2 separate regions of the Homo sapiens genome follow, and region 2 is linked to region 1. The links are contacts of gene promoters, found by promoter capture Hi-C in human tissues and cell types (Jung and others, 2019). All regions are on one chromosome and are shown on one strand. Each heading gives the region's core, a stretch centred on a gene start or on the middle of the fragment in contact. The rest is flanking DNA. Distances are from core to core; before and after follow the strand shown. Region 1 holds the start of PCDHA11 (protocadherin alpha 11). Region 2 overlaps PCDHB1 (protocadherin beta 1).

Region 1 (5,091 bases), core at 543-3,042:
TCACGTTGCTGCTCAGAGGCGGCACGCCCGCATCGCGCGCGCTCACCTGGAACTGTAGCAGCTCCAGCTCCTCGTGGTCCAACGGCTGCAGCGCGTACACCTTGCCGCTCTCCGCGTGCACCGACACGTAGCTCGACAGCGCGCGGTCGCCCAACCGCCGCTCCACCAGCGAGTAGGACACCAGCGCGTTCTCCTGCGCGTCCGCGTCCCGCGCCGACACTGTGAAGATGTGGCAGCCTGGTGGGTTGTTCTCCTTCACGAACACGGTGTACTCGGGCTGTGCGAACGCAGGCGCATTGTCGTTCACGTCGGCCACCTCCACGGATACCCTGGCCGTGGCCCACAGAGAAGGCGAACCCCCATCCCGCGCAGTCACCACCAGTTCATAGGCCCACACGTTCTCGCGGTCCAGGGCGCTGTCCAGCACCAACGAGTAGTAATTCTTGAAGGTGGACACCAGCTTGAAGGGAACGTGGGGCGTCAGCGAGCAGGTCACCTGTCCGTTGACACCTGAGTCACGGTCAGACACGCTGATCAGGGCAATGACCGTGCTGGGCTGAGCGTCCTCTCGTACTGGGAGGGACAAGGAAGTCACGGCGACTTCAGGAGAGTTATCGTTGGTGTCCAAGATTTCCACCCAGACTGTACAGTGACCTGCCATTGGGGGAGTCCCCTTATCTGTAGCCTGTACTTCAATTTTATAAAACTTGTTTTCTTCATAATCTAAAGTTCCATTGACCCTCACTTCTCCATTATTTTGATCTAGTGTAAATAAGTGTCTTCCATTGGGCTTAATTGACATTAAGGAGTATGTTACCTCTCCATTGACTCCTTCGTCTCGGTCTGTGGCGTTTAGTTTGAGCACAAGAGTTTCTTTAGCAGCATTTTCCATAAGGCTCACCTTATATTCTGATTTATCAAACTCTGGATCATTGTCGTTGACATCCAAGACTTGGACTAACAGCCGAACGGTGCCAGTAAGCTCTGGTTTTCCCCCGTCTGTAGCTGTTAGCAGCAAATTAAGTTCCGGAGTTTTCTCTCTATCCAGAGACTTCTTTAAAATAAGTGACAGTCTTTTAATCTGCTTACCATTTGTTGGTGAATCTAAAGAAAAATACTCATTTTTACTTAGCCTGTAGGTCAATAGAGCATTCTCTTCAATGTCAGCATCAGAAGCTCCCTCTAGTGGAAAACGCGAGTCCGATTGCTTAGATTCCGCAATCAGCAGCTTTTGTTCTCTGAGCGAGAACACCGGCGGGTTGTCGTTAATGTCCTTCACCTCCACGTTCACATGGAAAACCTGCAGCGGCCTGTCCACGATCACCTCCAGGTGGATGCTGCACTCCGCGCTCTGCCCGCACAGCTCCTCGCGGTCGATCCGAGAATTCACAAACAAAATGCCATTCTGCAGATTTACCTCCAGAAGGTCCCCATGTGTTTTGGACGCCACCCGGAACAGGCGCTGCACCAGCTCCGCCAGCTCCAGCCCCAGGTCCTGCGCGATGCGGCCCACGAAGGTGCCGTGTTTGGCCTCCTCCGAGACGGAGTAGTGGAGCTGGCCGCTCCCCACCTCCCAGAATTCGAGGAGGAGAAGCCAGAGCTGTAGTCGTGGGGTGCCCAATCCCCTTCTCTGAAAACCAAACATCGCATACGAAATTGGCTTCCAAAATAAGCTTCTTTACACTTACAGTACCAGATTCTTCAGTTTCAGGTTAAAAATCTCGTTGAATTCTTAAGAAGTTTCAAAGGATCCTTAAACGGTGGCATCCGGTATGATGGAGTTCCTTTGTATGGGAGTGCCTCACTGTTCAGACCAACCTTTAAATGAACTTTCCACCAAGTAAAGAGCGACACCTTGCGCCTAAAACTGTGAGTACTGTGCACTGCATTTACCACCACAGAATTTCACGTGTTTTGGGTTTCTTCCCCCAAATATTTCCAACGTGCTTATTTATGGAATATTCAGATTATAAGTCATATTGAAACTAAATATATATGGAAATGGCATTGTATTTCTCGATTAACATCAAATTTAAATTATTGTGTCTATGTTTGACTTAACATTATAACATTGTTCTTTTACTTATCTAAAATACTTATACACAGAGTGAGAGAGAAAGAGAATTCAGTTGTTAAGGTGGCCTCATGAAAAACTAGGGTTAAACATTTCCTGAAAGTGTTGTTCCTCATATAAAAATACTATCAAATTTGAATTGTTTTACTTTCAGTCTCCCTTGTTACTTTGGCTGCTAGGGAACTCAAAGAAAAAATTGAAGTTTTATAAAAGCAGCTCTTTAGTGTTTATGTTCCACATGATCTATTCTCATCTCTGTGGGCTTGCATTTTCATATCTATTTTCTATAGTTCTCATTCTTTACTGTTATTTACATTTAATTGCTTTCTGATTATAAGTGACTTTATATTCATTGCAGAACAATATGAAAAACAAATATATTCATATTCTCAAACTTGGTAGTTTTAAAAAAGAATCCACAAAGGAAAAGTCTATTGATCTAGATGAGTTTTTATTTGACATATATTATTTCTAATGTAAGCCATAGTAGCATAATATGAGATATCAAAATTTAGCACTTTATGTAACAGAATCAATGATATGACAGAAATAGGCTTTTCAACTATAAAATAAATTTTATTATCATTTTATAAAATAAATAAAATCACCCTGAACATCTTTGTGCCATATTGGTATTTCCAAGTCACCAACATTGGTTTCCTTAATCTAATTCAGTTATATTCATGAAAATAGTTTGTTTCTTGTTGAAAGAATTTTGGGTTTGGGAGCAGAAGTTCATGGAAAACAAGGGAAGTGATTTTTAATTATACCTTCTGTAAGTACCTGATATTGTGCTTAAAACATAGAAAATTAATCAAACAATTCAACTAAATGGTAAATTACCTTAGTGCTTGTGGAAATGGAATTTCATAGAAAATGCTAAGTAAAATACAGGAATTGCTTATGAGAGTTTTCTTTGCCTGAAGTTGTAACTTGCTTGAATTTTCTTTGTCTTTTCATATACCCTTAGGATTTAGGAGGAAAAAAAGAAGATGCAACAAAATTTTAGAGTAGAAAGTGATTTAGAATAAATATCACTCTAGCTTAAATATTTTGTTCTATAGTTTTGATGGTTTATCTCCAATCTAAAAATACTGCAAGGGCATATGAAAAAGTTATCATATGTGTATGCTAATATTTTATATATATATTCAACTATTAATTTGAGATTTTGTTCTACTTTTTTCATATTTACTCTTTTCCCAATGTTGTCATAACACTAGAACTCTAATTCAGGTAAATGCAAAATTCTGTATTAAAAAATTAAAGGAGACATATCAACTTTTATAACCGTTAATTCCATTACGCATCTGTAAAATAATCAATCATAGTAGCCTCTAATCAAAACATAACATTAGACCAGATGACAGTATATTCAACATGATATTTGAAGCACATCAGGTTTATTTTGAACAAAAGGAAACAACAGATCCTCAATCACCTTATTATGGGAATTGGGGATGAAGATGTTACATGGAATGTGGAGTCTTGCGAGGTAGGGAAATGAACCTTAGAAGGTTTACTCTGGAAAAATGATAATATCACATATTTGAATTAAAACAATATGTTAATTTAGGTGTTAATTTCCAACAATACAGTATTTTGTGAATATATAAAGTAGTACTGAACAAACGCCAAGTCATAAAAGAGTTTGATATAGTGTATGAATCAATGACCCATCTTTTGCATTTTGGCTGTGATATTTCAGATGTCACCATCTCAACCAGCCCCTAGTGAAGAGATTATGCGCCCTTTGAACTCATCTTTGAGGATCAGCCTAATATCTGGGTATAGGCTAATACCAAGAAGTCATTTCAATACAGTTATTGTTAACTGATTTTGTAAAATCAATTGAAGATTAAGGAACTTTGTGCCTGACTTTTACTATATCAGTCAGGACATACAATCTGCCTGTATGTCCTGTTAGTCATATAAGTATTAGAGTGCATAGTTTAATGTCTTACTAGTGCACGTCATCCACTGATATTCTAACAGACCTAGTGCTATTATTTCTTGAAAACACATAAATAAATTTTGACACCGTTGTCAGAACCCCAGGAGGTTCTCCAAAACCAACAGATTAGAATTACATTATCCAACCACTGTATTAACAAAATTATAGGATTTATTCCGTGATGCTAATTCTGCTCTATCATGGCTTAGTCAAGTAAAAACAGTTATTTGGTCACAAATCATTTGTCAGTTGTTATGAGCTTCCCAGCCAACAATAAGACTGAAGAAGACTGAAAGACCTACACACATTTGAAGATTTTCATGGGAATCTATGTCTTTAAAATTGTTATTGAAGTATGCAATATTGTAAACATTTCTTGAATCCTTTGGCCAAGTTCAGGGTCCCTGAAATAATAATATCAACATCTATACTTGTCCCAAACACTGTCTTTATTCACAGTAAAGAAAGAAGGGTGTCATTTTTGGTATATAGTATTTAGTTTAGGTGTTCCACAAGGATATTGGAAACCACAGTTTTCTGACTTTTCTTACATGTTAAACGATTCTTACTTATATCACTTCCAAACAACAGATACGTAGTTCTTATAAGGCAACTCTTAATTACTTAACAATTACATAACCAAAATACCTATCTCAGTGTGGCATTGATTAAAACAAATGATAATGATGATCACGAACTCTTACAAGAAAAAAATCACTTAACATAAAAAAACTTAGTGCCATCTCAATCACACATTGTACAAAATTAATGATGAAGACAATCATGAAGTTTCTTCTAAGCACAACAGAAAGAAAGATTTGCCTGTACACAATTTGTGCTTGATTTTCCTAGCCGAGACCATGTTTGAGCAGAGAAATGACTTACTAAAGAAAGCTCTACATTATAGTGGATAAAAGAATGAGTCTGAAGCCTGAAAGATACACATTTGAATAATATCTCCACCATGTACTGGCACTGGATAAAATAGATACACATCTCAGCTTCTCTTATTTTATCTTTCAAATTGGAACAGTCATATGTACTTTAGAAATTGTTATAAGTA
Region 2 (4,755 bases), core at 2,091-4,590, 190 kb before region 1:
GCATTTTTTTTAATTTTTAATTTTTACCTGTTACTGCTGTATTTAGAGCAGAGCGTGGTACACAGAAGCATAAACTTACTTCACCAGCTTGACCAGAAAACTTTTGTTACTTTCACTTTTTCACATTCTGTTTCAGTGGTTTTTTTGTTTGTTTGTTTTTGGGGGTTTTTTTGTTTGTTTTTTTGAGACTGAGTCTTACTCTGTTGCCCAGGCTAGAGCGTGGTGGCATGATGTGAGCTCACTGCAATCTCTGCCTCCTGGGTTCAAGCAATTCTCGTGCCTCAGCCTCCCAAGTAGCTGGGACTACAGGTGTGAGCCACCATGCCTGGCTAATTTTTGTATTTTTAGTAGAGAGGGGTTTCCACCGTGTTGGCCAGGCTGGTCTCGAACTCCTGACCTCAGGTGATCTCCCCACCTTGGCCTCCCAAAGTGTTGGGATTACAGGTGTGAGCCACCATGCCCGGCCTGTTTCAGTGTTATATAAACACAACAAATACTTTAATAATGTTTTTTAAAAGTGTTACACATATTTGAAAATGAAGTCAGACTTTTGGTTGAAGAATGAATGTCCACTTAGTCACATACTTTGAAGATATTAAACTCTACAGAAAATAGCTATTTATATGGGATAATCATATGAATGAATTATGCTTCCAAGAATAAGACAAATTCATCCCTAAATGGAAAACAACAAAAAATGCACAAACATGATAAAGAAATTCTTTATTTTTAGGAGAATTACATAATATCAGACAGACCAATTCCATTTTTTGTATATCTGTAAGTCTAATTTCAGCATATAAGTCTATTTTTAAATAGTATCTCAGGTATATATAGCTTAAACTATATAAACATGTCTGCACAACAAATTTTAAAATTTTCAGTTTATATCTATTTTAAAATGTATGACTAATTTAAAATTATGTTAGTATAATTTTCATTTAAAGTTAAAACTTTATGCATGAACCTTAATGGGGTTACTTTATGATTGTTTAAAATAATCTAACATGTAGAGTTACAAAGAAATACTAATTTTGATAAAAATGTATTCTATATGGATAATTCCAGTCTTAAAAATCTGCTCTTCATCTCAGATAAAAGAGTTTGCTGAACAACAAAGTAAATGATAGGATTAGTTTGTAACCCAAATAATAGAGGAGATATCCAGGTATCCTTATGTAAAGAAATAACTAACTAAATAAGTGGGGGGGAAAGTAACAAGTTTTCCTTCCAGAAGAATTTTAATTAATGTAAAAGGAAATAGAGAAATAGAAAATCACCATTAGAATGCCACAATATTAATTGCCACAGGAAATATCTAGCAATGGATACTAAAATTGGTTTAAGCAGAAACATCATATTTGCATAGTTTCAAAGCATATCCCCCAAGTGTTTATTAATTACAAAGAGAAAAAAGTAACTTTATAGTAGAGAAACGTGGCAGACATTATGTTAACCAAGCGATCAAAATTAACATCACCTTAACATTACTTAAAAATGGCTAACATACTTAAAAATGGCTAACATGGTACATTTTATAAGTTCTTTACCACAATAAAAGAAAAAAGATTAATATCACCAGTAGTGTGACATTGGCATCACATACCTGCTGACGTGATGCACTGAAAAGGATACAATATCATTTCTGCAGTATTTTTCCCAATAATGCATTACCTCAGTTTAATAATGAGAAAACAAAGAATCCCAAACTGAGGGGCATTCTACAAATAACTGGCTAGTACTCTTCAAAAATCTCAAGTCATGATAGACAAGGTAAGAGTAAGGAACTGTCACAGGTGGTAGAGACTAAGGAGCCATAACAAATGCTTTGCAGGATCCTGGATTGGATCCTTGAATAGAAAAAGGACATTGGGGGAAAACTGTTAAATTTGAATAAGATCTGTAGTTTACTTCATAGAATTATACCAAGGTTAATTTCTTAATTTTGATAACTACTATGGTTATATAAGATGTTAGCATTCCGGGAAGTTAGGTGAAGGATATACAGGAACTATCTATAGTATTTTTGCAATTTTATGAGTCTAGAATTATTTCCTAATAAAAAGCCTTTTTGTACAAGACACTTTTCAAGGTTCTTAGGTTATAGCTTTGAATACATAGAAATAGTTATAATATCACTTGACACTTTGGAGAGAGTAATTGCCCTAATTATTTCCATTCTTTGTCTTAATTTGCTGATAGAGACCTGGACTTAATCTCAGCTGGTGTACAGAGTTCTCTCCAAAAACAAGTGGCCTACTTCACATTCAGTGAATTGATATATTCTTATTTTAAGTTATCAGGTAGGATTGGAATTTTCTTGGGAACTTGAAGTCTGAATAAAATTAGAGTGACAAAATTTTCACCTAAGGCAAAAATAAGAAAAATGGTGGCAAAATAATTTTTTATTAAATCGATACATTTTTTAAATTTAAAGGATGGTTTCTTTTATGAGATTGTTATCTTACCTTTTTTTTTCTTTTTTCTTTTTTTCTTTTTTTTTTTTTTTTTTGAGACAGAGTCTTGCTTTGTCGCCAGGCTGGAGTGCAGTGGCATGATCTCAGCTCACTGCAACCTCCACCTCCTGGGTGCAAGCAATTCTCCTGCCTCAGCCTCCCAAGTAGCTGGGACTACAGGCACATACCACCACACCCAGCTAATTTTTGTATTTTTAATAGAGACATGGTTTCACCATGTTGGCCAGGATGGTCTCCATCTCTTGACCTTGTGATCCATCTGCCTCAGCCTCCCAAAGTACTGGTATTACAGGTGTGAGCCACCATGCCCAGCCTATCTTAACCATTTTTATATTAAAATGCCATTTCGTTTATGGAATAATGGTGGCGTGAAGTGGTAGATTTTATCTCATTTAATGTGAAAAAATAAAAAGTTGACAAATCTACATCTTCTGTCCATTGTGTATGTGTGTATATATGTATTCATGAATTTCACTGCTATTTGAATATCAAAGTCTTAAAATCATGAATCTACACCATTTTCTTTTCCTATCCTTGACATTAAGCCAGTTTCCATTGATTATGTTCACATCATTAAGTGTAATGAAACACAGTTAATACAGTAGCTTTTACTTAAGCATGTTTTATTAACTAATTATTGCTTACCCATAAAAATTAATTCTAGGCTGGGCATGGTGCTGTAATCCTAGCACTTTGGGAGGCCAAGGCGGGTGGATCACCTGAGATCAGGAGCTCGAGACCAGCCTGGCCAACATAGCGAAATGCCAACATGGCGAAGCCCCGTCTCTACTAAAAACACAAAATTTAGCTGGGCGTGGTAATGTATACCTGTAGTCCCAGCTACTCAGGAGGCTGAGGCAGGAAGATCACTTGAACCCAGGAGACGGAGTTTGCAGTGAGCCGAGATCATGCCACTGTACTCCAGCCTGGGTGACAGAGCAAGACTTTGTCTCCAAAAAATAAATAAATAAATAAAAATTCTATCTCCTTTTTCATTTAAAGGAAATAGAAATTTCAGCATGCCTTCACCAATTGGAACACAAATACACTGGAACACTTATTCTATGTTTTGTGCAAGAAAACCTTTACTCTAAATCGGAATCATAACTCAATGTATGTAAAATATTTAATATTAAAAATAAAAGCAATTCATTGATATAGTGCATTTGCTTCATCTGTTCTTTAACATTTTAACATTGAAGGCAGCCATAGGTTACACCAGTTCTGCCCTAAGCATCTCTAACATCTAAAAAATAACAGCACTAAATTTTAGTGTATTCCTGGCCAACAGGTAAACAGCCAGGTGGTGCCATTAGGTATCAGTCATTAAGTCCAAGAATGAAGTTTGTATCAATAAACATGATTTGGTATATTTAAGAAGTATTTTAAAAGATAATGCTCTACCCTTAAAATACCAAGAGGATGTATTCTAGTGAGTCTGAATTTACACACATTTTTATAAAATAAGGAATATAATTAAAGCCTCATTAAAGCACACTTTTTTTTTTTTTGAGATGAGGTTTCACTCTTTTGCCCAGGCTGGAGTGCAGAAGTGCAATCATAGCTTACTGCACCCCTGAACTCCTGGGCTTGAGCAATCCTCCTCCTTCAGACTCCTGAGTAGCTGGGACTACAGGTATGAGCCACCATGCCCTTCTCTAAAGCAAACTTTTGACTTTCAAGGCACAGTTAGCAGTGTTGGGAGAATCCCTGAAATATGTTAATGTTTTAACATTGGCTTATTTTAGAATGAGAGGGCTCAGAATAGCTTATGAAATCAAACAGTGGTGATCAAAGAGAAGCTTAAGTTGTCTCCCCACTCCATTTCATTTTATGAATGATTTACTAAAAATGCCACTTTTTCTCAGTTTGCATGTGTTAACTTCAGAATACTCAGAGAGGAAAATGGCTTACAATCAAATCTAGTACTACCTGAAAATGTGTCTTTCCTTAATGCCACTTAATTAGTATTAATGAACTTTTTAATTTTAATGTCTTTTTATTTTATATTTGCTCTACAAACTACAAAATGGTTTACAATAAATGTTGTGTACACTTAATGGCACAAAATAGTTTAGAGTGTTCTGTAACACTTATTAACTACAGCAGGCCTTATGTATTTATGTATTTATGTATTTATTTTTATGTTTTTGAGACAGCGTCTCACTCTGTTGCCCAGGCTGGAGTGCAGTGGCACAATCTCAGCTCACTGCAACCTCCACCTCCCAGGTTCAAGCGATTCTCCAGCCTCAGCCTCTTGAGTACCTGGGATTACAGG

Evidence for each region. The method cuts DNA at HindIII sites, captures the fragments that hold promoters and counts their contacts. A contact is called where the count stands out against the background at its distance.
Region 2: a fragment that was not itself captured here is called in contact with the fragment with the promoter of PCDHA11 in region 1 in 2 of the 25 tissues and cell types used here (mesendoderm cells and neural progenitor cells).

What each region holds. Positions count from the first base shown.
Region 1 is chr5:140,865,658-140,870,748 of GRCh38, reverse strand. PCDHA11 (protocadherin alpha 11) reads right to left here and starts at 1,792. Exons shown (of 4, transcript NM_018902.5): 1 at 1-1,792. The coding sequence starts at 1,645. The region is part of intron 1 of PCDHA1 (protocadherin alpha 1); the gene reads right to left. The region is part of intron 1 of PCDHA2 (protocadherin alpha 2); the gene reads right to left. All of the region lies in intron 1 of PCDHA3 (protocadherin alpha 3), which reads right to left. It also overlaps PCDHA4, PCDHA5, PCDHA6, PCDHA7, PCDHA8 and PCDHA9, and 3 more genes. RefSeq lists enhancers at 1-3, 4-679. The HindIII fragment of the contact is 18,501 bases long and covers 1-5,091 here.
Region 2 is chr5:141,055,298-141,060,052 of GRCh38, reverse strand. It overlaps PCDHB1 (protocadherin beta 1), which reads right to left. Exons shown (of 1, transcript NM_013340.4): 1 at 707-4,755. It overlaps PCDHB1-AS1 (PCDHB1 antisense RNA 1), which reads left to right. Exons shown (of 4, transcript NR_105056.2): 2 at 2,203-2,303. It also overlaps PCDHB@. Among named protein-coding and RNA genes, the nearest start is that of PCDHB1, 6.3 kb to the right of the region's middle. The HindIII fragment of the contact is 4,957 bases long and covers 862-4,755 here.